Linked DNA regions of Homo sapiens: region 1 is linked to region 2. Evidence: promoter capture Hi-C in 16 types of primary human blood cells and fetal thymus (Javierre and others, 2016). All regions are on one chromosome and are shown on one strand. The core of a region is centred on a gene start or on the middle of the fragment in contact, and the rest is flanking DNA. Distances in the headings are between cores, read along the strand shown.

Region 1 (6,430 bases), core at 3,640-6,139, 780 kb before region 2:
GCAAGATTCCCTTGGAAACCCTTCCCACATTTATTTGACTTTCAAGTTTAGGATGGATGTTCAGCATAACTTGCTTCTAGCAATAAAGGAATGAGAAATAATTCTCAGTCCCTAGCACCCCAGTGATACTGCTCTTAATAACAAGGCCACCGTATTACCAAGCCCGGCAGATGCTTCTCTGTGCTCATATTGACCTGCTGGTTGCATTTGTCACAGATGTACTTTTCTGTCTCGGCTTCCATGACACCACTCTCTCTGGACTTCCTCCTACTTCATTGACCATTCTTTCTTATTATTCTCTGCTTCACCAGGTTTTTCTTCCTTATCTGACCTCTAAATGTTAAAGTTTTTCAAGATTGGGTCTTGGTGCTTCTTTTTTTTAATCACTAAATGGTCTGATCTATCCACACAGATTTAAATGGCATTGTATGTGCTAATGACTTTCACATTTAAATGTCTATCTCAGAACTTTCTGCTCAGCTCCACACTTGCATACTCACCCTCTCTTTGAGGTCTTCACTTGGCTATTTCTCAGACATCTCAAACTTAACATGTCCCCGAATGAAAATCTAGATAATTTTGGCCGGGTGCGGTGGCTCACGCCTGGAATCCCAGCACTTTGGGAGGCTGAGGTGGGTGGATTACCTGAGGTCAGTTGTTCCAGACCAGCCTGGCCAACATAGTGAAACCCCTGCCTCTACTAAAAATACAAAAAATTAGCTGGGCGTGGTTGCACGCACCTGTAATTCCAGCTATTTAGGAGGCTGAGGCAGGATCATGGCTTGAACCCAGGAGGCAGAGGTAGCAGTGAGCTGAGATCGCACCACTGCACTCCAGCCTGGGCAACAAGAGTGAAAATCCATTAAAAAAAAAAAAAAGAAAATCTAGATAATTTCCCCACAAATCTTCCCTTTCCCCACCACCCCTTGATCCTCTTCATCTCAGTAAACAACCCCAATGTCTACCCGGAAACCAAGGGATCATCTTGATCTCTCACTTTCTGTCATCTCCCACATCTCATTTATCACTGAGTCTAGTCAATTCTACCCCCACAATGTATCTCAAATCCATTTATTTCTCTCTACCTCTCTTGACATCACCCTAGTGCAAGTCCCCATCATGCTCTCCTATCCCATTATAATATCCCATTGTAATATCCTTCCAACTCCCTGATCTGTACCTCCCTCCTCCAATGCATTCTGCATCCTGCTTCCAGAGTGGGCTTTTTAAACTCTTAAAATCATATCATGTCACTCTGATTAAACTAAATTAAAACTCTTCAGAGGGGCTAGGTGTGGTGGTTCACGCCTATAAGCCCAGCACTTTGGGAGGACAGGGTGGGTGGATTGCTTGAGCCTAGAAGTTTGAGACCAGCCTGGGCAACATAGCAAAACCCTATCTCTCCAAAAAACAAAACAAAACAAAAAAACAGAATTTATCCAGGTGTCATGATGTGCACCCACAGTCCAGCTACTTGGGAGACTGATGTGGGAGGATCTCTTGAGGCCAGGAGGTCGAGGCTGCAGTGAGCTATGATTGCACCACTGCACTCCAGCCTGAGAGACAGAGTGAAAGTGAAAGCCCATCTCAGAACAAAAACAACACACAAAACAAAACAAAACTCTATAGAAGTGTCTCTTATACTTAGAGTAAAACCCAGTCTTCTGAAGTGGCCTTCAAGGCCCTGCATGCTTGTTACTCTTCCATTGCTCCAAAGGCTCCAGCCATGTGGGTCTTGGTCTTTCTGGACCATACCAGTCCCTCTCCTGCTCAAGGCCCTAGCACTTGCCGACTCCCCTGCCTGGCCCACTCCTCCCTTCCCCTTTGCATGAATAGCTCCCTCATTCTGGTCACCTTACTGCGAGCAGTGCTTCCCTTTACTCTGCCCCTTTCTGCTTTGTTAGTTTTCTTTAAAACACTTACCAAAGCTTGTATTATCAATTTTATGGTTTTTAAATTATTTTATCTGTATTTTCTGCTAGAATATAACCTCCTGGAAGTCAGGCACTGCCTTTCTGTCCTGTTTGTTGTTCCATCCCTAGCACAGTGTCTGGTACAGCAGGTATTAGTTGAATTAATGAGCCCAGCAGTAGTGCTACCTCTTTATGGAGAACCCAAGCAGGGAAGACCCAGTGCCTACCCTCAGGGAACAGCCAGGTTCTTACCTAGCTCCAACCTGAGAATCACCTTAAACATCTCTCTCTTCCTCATCCCCCAAGTCAAAAACCAACAATTCCCCAAGTAGATGTGCCCAAATCCATTCCCACTCCATTATCCAGCTTGGTTCAAGTCCTAATCATCTCTTTTCTGGTTTAACCTGATAGTTGTTACCTGGGGACAAAAACTAAGAAGCCCAAGCACAGTGAGTTAAGATTGCATCTGAGGCCGAGTGCAGGGGCTCACACCAGTGGCTCAGGGGATTACGAAGTATAATCCTAGCACTTTGGGAGGCCCAGGCAGACGGATCACCTGAGGTCAGGAGTTCGAGACCAGCCTGGCCAACATGGCAAAACCCAGTCTCTACTAAAAATACAAAAATTAGCCCGGCGTGGGTGTGCCTGTAATCCCAGCTACTCAGGAGGTTGAGGCAGGAGAATTGCTTGAACCTGGGAGGCGGAGGTTGCAGTGAGCCGAGATGGCGCCATTGCACTCTAGCCTGGGCAACAAGAGCAAAACTCCCTCAAAAAAAAAAAAAAAAAAAGATTGCATCTGAAAGTGAATTTAGGGGAAATGTCTTCAAGTAATGGAGAAGTCTAGCCATCTCTTGAGACAGTTCACTCACAAGCACAGTCACAGCCACTGGGTGTCCAAGGAGAATGAGAGACATCTGAGGGCTAAGGTTGGATTTCACTCTGGAAGCCACAATACACTTCTGAGCCTGTACTGTAAATAAACCCTGACTTCATCAGACTATGCTGTGGCTGGGAAGGAACGTCATTGTAGAGGGGCCAGATGAGCATGCAGTGAGAAGCTAGAACTGCTGGCCGGGGTTTATTTGCCATTGTTGGGCAAACAGGATCACCTTGGCCCCTAGAAGTCTGTCATGCTGAGGACAAAGTGTTTTAGGCTCCTCTTTCCCTGGAAGCCTCTCTGTCCCCCCAAGTTCTGATTCTGGGCCCACCTAGACTTCCACCTCCAGCAACCTCAGAAATACGAGGGCTTGCTTTGGATAGTAGGCATCAGTGCTGGTCACTAAAGAGGTTTAACCCCTACCATATATAGGGTTTAAACCCTACCATTTATAACACAGTCCTGGTTGTTTATGTCAGATGAGTTTGTTGTGAGACAGCCCTTTAGGGCTTAATTTTCTCCAGATGCCCCAACAAAATCAAATTTTGAGCCCCAGGCACATCCAGATACAGTGATTCTGACGGGGATCTATTTAGACAGCCAGCATCTCCTGCTGATATGGTTGGTTGTATCCCCACCCAAATCTCATCTTGAATTGTAGCTCCCATAATCCCCACGTGTTGTGGGAGGGACCTGGTGGGAGATAATTGAATCATTGAATCATGGGGGTAGGTTTTCCCGTGCTATTCTCATGATAGTAAGATAGTAAGTCTCACACAATCTGATGGCTTTATAAAGGGAAGTTCCCCTGCACATGGTCTCTTGCCTGCCACCATGTAAGATGTGCCTTTGCTCCTCCTTTGCCTTCTGCCATGATTGTGAGGCCTCCCCAGCCGTGGGGAACTGTGGGTTCATTAAACCTTTTTTCTTTATGAATTACCCAGTCTCAGGTATTTCTTCACAGCAGTAGGAAAATGGACTTATACTCCCTCTGTGACATTGCTTTCTCTCTCTCTCTCTCTGTCTGTCTCTGCTTTCTAACCTCTCACCCTCTCCCTTTCTACTGGAATGAACTTACTCAGATGCAGATTGGAACTCATGTTTTGAACTCATGTTTTATTTGAAGCTGTGCTCCGGAATGAACCTTCCCATGTCCCCTTGTCCTATGAAGTCTGTAGCCTGGGGCACAATTTGGACCTTGCTCTTCAGTCTAGTTTTATTTTTCCCTCACTCCCCAACCATGAACTGAGTTACTTTTCTGAACAGACTCAGGCCTTTCTAGCTTCCAGACCTTGACTCCTGCTGCTACCTCGGCATGTCATGGCAGACTGCCTCCTACTTTCCTTTGTCTGGTGAACTCCTATCCATCCTTCAAACCCTGGCTCAGGCTGTGCTAGGTATCCTCAGTACTCCCCATACTCACTGTGGTATATCAATCTCTGCAGTTTTTATGCTGCATGTTATTCTGATCTTTTCCTGCCTTTCTCCATCACTGATTTGTGTGACCTTGGATCAGGGACAGTCTCTCATCTCTGCTTCCTTAGCACCCAGTTCAGTGCCTGGCACATAGGTGCTCAATAAATGTTTGTTAACAGAATAGACTAAGCAAGCTAGCTGAGGAGAGAAATATAACACTAAACAACAGCAAACACATAAGGCAGAAAATAGAGGTACAGAACAAATATAAGATGCCTGAGAAGCAGAATTCACATTTTACAGCCAAACCTTCTTTATAAAAACCCCGCATAGAAGCAACAAAACAGACCAAACCAAAATATTTTTTAAAGCACTTACTACACTTATGCCACAGTCAGCCCTTCACAGGCATAATCTCATTTCATCCCTACATCTGAAGTAAGTGGTCACACTAAGTGGGTGAACAGCAGTTACTTCCATTATGTGATGAGGAAACTCAGTCTCAGAGAGTTTAAGTAACTTGCCCACATTGCTAAGTGGCTCAGCTAGAACTTAACTCACACCTGTCTGACCTCACAGACTGTGCTTGTTTTAAAAAATATCCTTTTAACTATGGGAAATTTCAACTATGTATAACTATATATAAAGGTAGAAAGAGTCTAGAATAATGACCCCCCCATCCCTCCACTTCAGCAATTGAAGTATCATGGCTAAATTTTACAATCTCTACCTACCAGCTTCCACCCCATCTGGGAGGCTATTATGCATATATCACTTGGAAAATCTGTAAATATTTCAGTAGTCCTTGCTCTATTTTGTAGTTCTTCTATTTTAATTTTAAAATTATTCAAGTGATAATTTAATTATCACCTGATTTAAAAAGTTAAACAGCACTGAAGACCTTCTAGAGACCAACATTTCCCTGACCCACACTTTCCTCTCCCCGCACCCTGCTGTCAGCACTTTCACCTTTTCTTTTTTCTTTTTTTGTTTTGTTTCTGAGATGGAGTCCCACTCTGCCACCCAGGCTGGAGTGCAGTGGTGTGATCTCAGCTCACTGCAACCTCTGCCTCCCAGGTTCCAGAGATTCTCCTGCCTCAGCCTCCTGAGTAGCTGGGATTAAAGGCATGTGCCACCACACCCAGCTAATTTTTGTAATTTTGTATTTTTAGTAGAGATGGGGTTTCACCATGTTGGCCAGGCTGGTCTCGAACTCCCAACCTCAGGTGATCCGCCTGCCTTGGCCTCCCAAAGTGCTGGGATTAAAGGCATGAGCCACCGTGCCTGGCCTTACTGTTTCTTTCATCCAGAGCCTGCCCACATATTTCTTGATTGCTCAAGTTATCTGCCACAGACATCGTTTACTGACTTCTAGCTGACAAATGAATATTTAACTTACTCACCCTCCACCTCCCTTTCCCTTTACTGGCTGTTTTGATCACTTTAAATAATAGAACTCTATTTCTTGTATCAACTATAGACAGTTTCCTCCTCATACTCACACTTTCTCTCTTATAATCTCAGATGTTTTATTTTCTAAGGTCAAAACGGAAGACAAAAAATCAGTTTAATTACTATGCTACTCTGCTGATGCTTCTGTGAAATATAGGTCCTTTCTGCTAAGAATTACGATGTAGGTGCCCCTGGCTGTCAGAAGCTATGGGCGGGTAGCCAAATCATTGTTTTGCTTCCCCACTGAGCATTCTCAGGCCTGCAGAATAATGCCAGCTATTTGATTATTTTTCACGGTGCTCCCTCTCCAGGGCAGGCCTGTAAAACCCATGCTCAGCCATCTTCCATTACCCCCATGTTTGAATCATGGTTCTAATGTTAAATAGCTCAGTTCCTTTTTCTTTCTTTTTCTTTCTTTCTTTCTTTCTTCCTTTCTCTCTCTCTTCTTTCTTTTTCTCTTTCTTCTTTCTTTTTTCTTTCTTCTCCTTCCTTCCTTCCTTCTTTCCTTCCTTTCGTTTGTTTTCATTTTTTTGGTTTTTGTTTGTTTGTTTTGTTTTTTGAGACTGAGTTTCGCTCTTGTTGCCCAGGCTGGAGTGCAATGGCGTGATCTCGGCTCGCCGCAACCTCCACCTCCTGGGTTCAAGCAATTCTCCTGCCTCAGCCTCCTGGGTAGCTGGGATTACAGGTATGTGCCACCATGCCCGGCTAATTTTGTATTTTTAGTAGAGACAGGGTTTCTCCATGTCGGTCAGGCTGGTCTCGAACTTCCAAC
Region 2 (7,158 bases), core at 366-2,865:
TGATTTTTTCAATCCCCACAACTATGACAGAGATAGATATTACTATTATCTTCATTGTACAGGTGAGAAGCTGAAGCGGAAAGTTTCACAACTTGCCAAAGGTTAGGCAGTTACGAAGAGAGTAGTTAGATTTGAATTGCAATCAGTCTGGCGGTAGAGTCCTTACCCTTAACCATTGCACTATATTCCATCTGCTGAATTGATAAGCTTTGTTAGGAAAGAAGAAAAGAGAGGCCTGGGCAGTCTTGGTAATGTCGAATGGTTTGAGATGTTAAGGAGCACCCGAATATCTCAGAATAGAGCTAACCCCGCTCTCCCCCGCCCCGACCCCATTTAAGATGCATTGATAAGCCTTTAATGAAACTCAAAGTTTACCTTAGCAGGTTTAATATTTGATCTCATCTTCTGAAAGTTCTTACTATCAGTCTTATACACAGCGAGGCGGACTAATTAAGAGGCAAGGGTGATAGGAAACTGGACACACGTCCTCAGCAGGCACAGGAGCAGCACCATATGGCTGACTCACTGGAGGTTTTTAAAAAAGAGAAAGAATATCTTCCGATCAGTACTAAGATGTGGCCTTGCCCATTTGGGAACAGGATTCGCAGACCAAGAAAAGGGTGGCGGGCGTCCCCATGAGCGGGACGTGGGAAGCGCCTCACTTCTGACCTCACGGAGCCTGACCTCGTCCCCCGCGCCTGCCTCCGACCGGCGACGCAGGTTACCTGTAGGGATTCGAATCCACCACCTCTGAGCTCATCTTCTCGATGCGGACCCGGCCGCCCCCTCCGTCGCCGCTCCTCGGGACCTGCAGACTCCTCTCCTGGGCAAGTTCCCGCTCCAGCTCCTGGACCCGCTGCTGCAGGCGCTCCACAGACTCCGCCATGGCTGGGACTCCGGCCGCCAACGCTCCCAGCCCGGGCCTTCGCCGCCGCCTTCGCCCCACGTTGCTCGGCTGGGCCCGCGAGGGGTACGTGGGGAGGCACCTCGCCGCTGCCTTCCTAGCCCAGAGCCCTGGGGACGTGCACCCAGCGCCTCACAGACAGACACGTCTCCGAGACTCCCACAGGCCTTCCTCGGAGCCGCTTCCGGTGCGTCGCAGACATCGCTCCCCCTCATCAAAAACCTGGCTCTTTCGGCTTCCTTCCTCGCTGGGCCGGCTAAACCCGGCCGCAGCAGCACCGGGGTGATAAGTGTCCAGGGCAGGAGGCCAGCGATGTTGCCTTGCTAACCGGGTATCTAAGAGAAACAGGGTCTTTTTATTCTTAGGCTCGACAGTCTGACGGCCCTTTTTCTGAACGGGACCCTGCAGGTCTTCCGCCTGCTGTTGCATTAAATTTGGGGGTGGAAGAGGCTTCTGCGTTGTTCCTTACCCGCAACGATGACCATGGCTTTGCCTTCTTTAAAATTGAGGCCTCCAACTCTGACGCTGACTGGAGAATTGAAACCCGAACACACATTGGGCTCTTTTGGCACTTGACTAGAGCTAAAACCTCGGGATTCAGCGGGCAAGCGTTGCTCAGCAACGGCGCGTAGGCTGTGTGCGGTTGGCTGGAGCCAGACCCCACCCCGGCCTCGGCCCATGCTCTAGAGGGGACGTTGCCCCAATCCTGAAGGACTTCGGCACTCGAGACCTGTGGATGCCGCGTTGCTGTGGCCTGCGGGGGTGATCATGAAGCCAGGTGCTACTGGCGAGTCCGATTTGGCCGAAGTGCTGCCCCAGCACAAGTTCGACAGCAAGTCCCTGGAGGCCTACCTAAACCAGCACTTGTCTGGCTTTGGGGCCGAACGTGAGGCTACGCTGACCATTGCCCAGTACAGGTATGGATGTCAGCCTTTGCCTCCAGCGGAAAAAAATTTGTACATTGAGTTTTCCTTCCTTTGGCCCTGGGTGGTTTCCTAAGTTTCTCCCACCCTGATTGCTTTTCCTGCAGTCAGTGGACGCACCCTACAGGCATGAGCTGCTATTGCCGGCCCTCCGAATTCGATGCTGGGGGCTTCCCAATTGGAGGGCGGTAATGGAAGCGCAATAACGTTCACCATTCTACTATCCAAAGGAATCTTTGTTAAAGGATGGATTTATGTCCCTTGAGGATTCACCAAGGCAATTAAGGCTACAAATTCTGAGAAATAGATGCCTTCTTTTGTGATACAGCCATTAGATCTTTTTCTGAGAAGCTGGTGTAATTCCGTTTGATTGGCCGTATTCCGGGAGGCTGAGTTAATGACACCAGATGGAGGATCCGAATTCGAGTACTAGCTTTTCCACTTAGGAGGTCACAGCACCACTTTGGGCCTCAGGTTTTTTGAAGTGAGGTAATGGAACTGAGTGAGAGGATCCTGAGAGTAGCGTTCCCCACCGGGAATCTGGCTTTAGTCTGATGTTTTACAATAGATAATACATTCTTAAAACTTTATTCTAAAAATAACATTGTTACTAATACAGGGCTACAGAAAGAGTCCTATCATTCAGAAAACTGGATCTGTCACTTGCTGTCTGGGAGTTTAAATATGTTACATAAACACTCTGAGAACTAGTTTCCTAAGTTGTAATACCTATTTTGATTAGTCTTATTAATGAAATGAAATACCGTAATATAGGTGAAAGGGCGTAAAAATTGCAACAACATAGTGTGCTAGTGGTATTTTATCACTAGCATTTATATTCTTTGACTACTGATTTTGGTGAAAATGAAAATAATAATAAATGAGATGGATCAGGGAACATTTTAGGGTGTAGAATTTAAAGGTCCCATGTCCCAATAGATATTGGAAGATGAAGGGAAAGGTGGAATAAAGAATAGCTGAGATTTCTAGGCTAGAAGCCTTGTGTTGTAACAAACTGAAACAGATCAAAGTTCAAATTTCAACTATTTCAATTGCTGTGGAATTTGGACAAGTTACCCTTTGAACATCTAGTCCTGCTTTGGCAAAAAGGAGATAGTAACGTTCATATTGTAGGAGTGTTGAAGAGGTACATAACTGAAAGATACTTAATTCTGAACCAAGCTGAATGTTAAACCATAACCGTGTTCAAAAAATGAAATTAGTTGTAAATTAGTTGTGGTATAAAAATTGCTTCCAGAAATGTTGTATAAGCTTGGTTTAATAAATATATATGGAACTCTGGATCCCACAGAGAACACACATTCATTTCTAGGACACATGAAAAAGTTTATAAAAATTGAAAACACATAGGCCATGAAGGAAGTCTCAGAAACTCAAAAGAATCAATCTTTATATTTTGAAAATGTGTGTTTTGGCCAGGTGCAGTGACTCACACTTGTAATCCCAGCACTTTGGGAGGCCGAGGCACGTGGATCACTTGAGGTCAGGAGTTCAAGACCAGCCTGGCCAACATGGTGAAACCCCCATCTCTACTAAAGATACAAAAATTAGCCGGGCGTGGTGGCACGTGCCTGTAGTCCCAGCTACTTGGGATGCTGAGGCAGGAGAATCGCTTGAACCAGGAGAGGGAGGTTGCAGTGAGCCAAGATTGCACCACCATGCTCCAGCCTAGGTGACAGAGTGAGACTCAAAAAAAAAAAAAAAAAAAAGGAATATGTGTTTTTTTAATACCAAAAGTTTAACAGAAGATAGCTAACAAATACATGTTTATAAATTAAGTGATTCATGGATTAAAGAGCCAATAATCTACATAGACAGTAAAAGACTATCAAAGTTCAGTGTACAGAAATCAACTGCATTTCTCTACTTTAGCAACAGTTAAAATGTAATTTTCAAAAACTTACAGGAGCATCAAAAATATAAATTACCTAAGTAAAAGATGTGCAATACCTTTGTAGAGAAATGATAAAACTTTTATTAGGACCTTAAAAAGAATTTTAAAAATTGAGAGATGCCATGTTGTTGAATAGGAATATTCAATATTGCAAACTTTTTTCTTCCAGTTGATCTATTGATTCAAAGCAATGACAATCAAAATCCTAATTTTTTTCTCTAATTTGAAAAAGTGCTCCTAAATTTTATGTGTAAGAGCGAAGGGCTAAGGATAGCAGAAACATTTTTAAAGAACCACAAGGTGGGAAATTTGAGTTAAGATGGTATGATATTAGCACAGAGATAGACAGACCAATAAAATAGAACAGAGAGTTCACAGAAAGACCCACATATTTATAGAAGTTTGATAAGTGACAATGTTGGCACTGAGAGTCAGTGGGGGGAAAAGAAGAACTTTTCAAGAAGTTATACTGGAATAATTGTTATCTGTATGAAGAAATAGAAATTAGACTCTTTATCTCACACAGTTCCAGGTAGATAAAAGAACTGAATGTTAAACTATAAATGTTTGGAAGATGTGTAAGTTATATTTTTGACTTTAGAGAAGAAAATATTTTAAAGACAACAGCAGAAACCACAAAGGAAATGACTGATAAATTTTCATTAAAAGACTTAAAGTGAAAAGACAGAAGAAAATATTTTCAGTGCATATAATGGTTAAAATATTCAGAATATAACTATAATAGCTCACCAGAAAAATGGGCGAAAACTTGATGATGCTCAACTTTATTATACTGTAGTAATAAGGGAAATGCAAATTAAAAAAAAAAAAACAACACAATGAGAAACCATTTCACACCACCAAATTGACTTTTAAAAAATCTGACAATAGACTGGGTGCAGTGGCTCATGCCTGTAATCCCAGCACTTTGGGAGGCTGAAGCAGGTGGATCACCAGAGGTCGAGTTCGAGACCAGCCTGGCCAACATGGTGAAACCCCGTCTCTACTAAAAATACGAAATTAGCTGGGTGTGGTGGTGGGTACCTGTAAATCCCAGCTACTCGGGAGGCTGAGGCAGGAGAATTGCTTGAACCTGGGAGGCAGAGGCTTTAGTGAGCTGAGATCACAGCACTGCACTCCAGTCTGGGTGAGTCAGAGGCAGACTCCGTCTCAAAAAAAAAAAAAATCTGACAATATCAAGCATCAGGATATGGGGCAACAGGGACTCATATAGGGGTGTGAATTAGTATAGCTGCTATTGAAAAATAACTCAACATGATCTTGTAAAAATGAAGTTGGGAAGATACACATGACCTATGACCTAGCAGTTCTACTCATAGATACATACTCCTGAGACTTTTCTTGTACTACAGTATAAGGGGACAATCTACAAAGATGTTCATTGTACTGTTTGTAATAGCAAAAATCCAGGAAACAACACAATGTCTATAGATACAGAATGGATGAATAAATTGCAGTATATTCACATAATGGAGTAGCATACAACAGTGAAAATGATTCAGCTACAGCTGTACATAACACAGAATGAAAAACGTGAAGAAATTAACAGTATATTATATACAGAGATAAACTTCAAGGGAATGATAAATATAAAATTCAGAATGGTAGTCACTCAAGGGGAAGGACATACAGGGTTTCAAAGACAGTAATTTTCTCCGGGTAGTGAAAATGGTGTTTGTGGCATTACTATTCCTCATGCCTTACCAATTTCATAAATACTCTTTTTATCTGCAAGATTTACTTTTAAAATTTGCAAAAATTAAATCTTATTGGAAAGATAAAATATTTAGAATTAATCAATAATGAAAGTATTATATAGCTTGATACAACAAAACTTGTGATTTGCAGCTGAGTGCCTAATATGTATCTGGCACTGTATCAACCACTGAGGATGTAACAATAATCTTGCCTCCCTGGAACTTCCATTGTATTTGTAGAAGACAGACAGGAAAATCAGCTTCTGAACTTTACAATGTAGAAGTTGATATGTAACATGGAGGAAAAGAGAATAGGAAATGTTTGGGTGTGGGGCAGGAAGATTTCCTCGAGCACACGGCATTCAGCAAAGACTTGAAGGGGGATGAAAATGTGAGCCATGTAAATATCCAGGAAAAGAGTGTTCCAGACAGAGGGGACTGCTAATGCAAAGGCCCTGGAAGGGATGTGTGCCCAGTGTGTTGAGGAAACACAGCCCAAATGCCTGAAGTAGTGTAAGCAAGGGCAACAGGGACCCTGTCAGGCAATAAAGAGACTTTGGCTTTTACTTTGAATTGAGATGGAGAGAGACTTAAAACATGCTTGAGCAGAGGAGGGAAGTAATCTTTAAACAAACAAACAAACAACAACAACAAAAAAAACAGAATCTCTGCTTCTTGTGTTGAGAGTTGACTGAAGGGGCCAAGGGCAGAAGCAAGGACACCAATGTATTACAGTGTTCCAGCAGGGAGATATCAGTGGCATAGACCAGAGTGGGAGTGTAGAATGGGTAAGAAGTGGTCATAGTGTAAGTATATAGTCACATGCTGCATAATGACGTTTTGGTCAATGACGGGCTGCATATACGGCAGTGGTCCCATTAGATTATAATACTGTGTTTTTACTGTACCTTTTCTATGTTTAAATGTGTTTAGATACACAAATGCTTATCATTTTGTTACAATTAATTGCCTGCAGTATTCAGTACAGTCACATGCTGCACAGGTTTATAGCCTAGGAGCAGCAGGCTGTACCACAGAGCTCAGGTGTGTCCTATCGGGTTCAAATCAGCCTATTTATGCTAACTCCAACCAGCTGAGAAGTTTCACAACGAATCAGTGCCAATTAAATGCTTAGGAATTCACGATTTATTGTGTGGCTTCTACACAACAATCATGTAACTCTATCCAACACACATAGGCATTAATAGAGAAGGGAAACACAGCAAGTATTCTGGGAGACCAGCACACTGACTGAGAAAACCAGGTTTGGTTTTCCTCAGAATGCCCACTGACCTGGTGGTGGGTAGCTGCTCTTTTCCCAGAGGGCTTACCACAGCCAAAGGAAAGGAGGCCTCAGAGTTCTCATGGGCAGAGATTCTGCAGGCATCTCAGCCATGATTGGCTTTTACGGCTCTCCACAGACATCTCCATGGCCATTATCTTCAGCTGACTTTTGGCTTTACTTTCTTGTCAGGTGTCAGGGATGCCTGGCCACAGCAGATGCTATCTTATCACCTCAGTCCACCACACATATGCTTACTACTCTGAGTGGTCAGTGATTTCACTGTAAGCTGAGTCACTTGTCATAAGTGACTCCATTATGAGACATTTATGATCATAAAACATAATTATATATCAGTGCATAATAGGCTATACCATCTAGGTTTGTGTAAGTGCACTCTAGGATGTTTACACGTG

Evidence for each region. The method cuts DNA at HindIII sites, captures the fragments that hold promoters and counts their contacts. A CHiCAGO score of 5 or more calls a contact.
Region 1: a fragment that was not itself captured here is called in contact with the fragment with the promoter of ACAD11 in region 2 in 5 of 17 cell types (total CD4 T cells, total CD8 T cells, fetal thymus and 2 more); the score reaches 8.5 in total CD4 T cells.

The regions. Positions count from the first base shown.
Region 1 is chr3:133,437,311-133,443,740 of GRCh38, reverse strand. The region is part of intron 1 of BFSP2 (beaded filament structural protein 2); the gene reads right to left. BFSP2-AS1 (BFSP2 antisense RNA 1) reads left to right here. Exons shown (of 4, transcript NR_189064.1): 3 at 6,246-6,343. Among named protein-coding and RNA genes, the nearest start is that of BFSP2, 40 kb to the right of the region's middle. RefSeq lists an enhancer at 1,504-1,783. The HindIII fragment of the contact is 5,917 bases long and covers 1,931-6,430 here.
Region 2 is chr3:132,654,266-132,661,423 of GRCh38, reverse strand. ACAD11 (acyl-CoA dehydrogenase family member 11) reads left to right here and starts at 1,615. Exons shown (of 20, transcript NM_032169.5): 1 at 1,615-1,821. The coding sequence starts at 1,673. It overlaps UBA5 (ubiquitin like modifier activating enzyme 5), which reads right to left and starts at 1,095. Exons shown (of 12, transcript NM_024818.6): 1 at 726-1,095. The coding sequence starts at 886. The region is part of intron 26 of NPHP3-ACAD11 (NPHP3-ACAD11 readthrough (NMD candidate)); the gene reads left to right. RefSeq lists enhancers at 500-779, 1,150-1,239, 775-1,313. The HindIII fragment of the contact is 2,892 bases long and covers 210-3,101 here.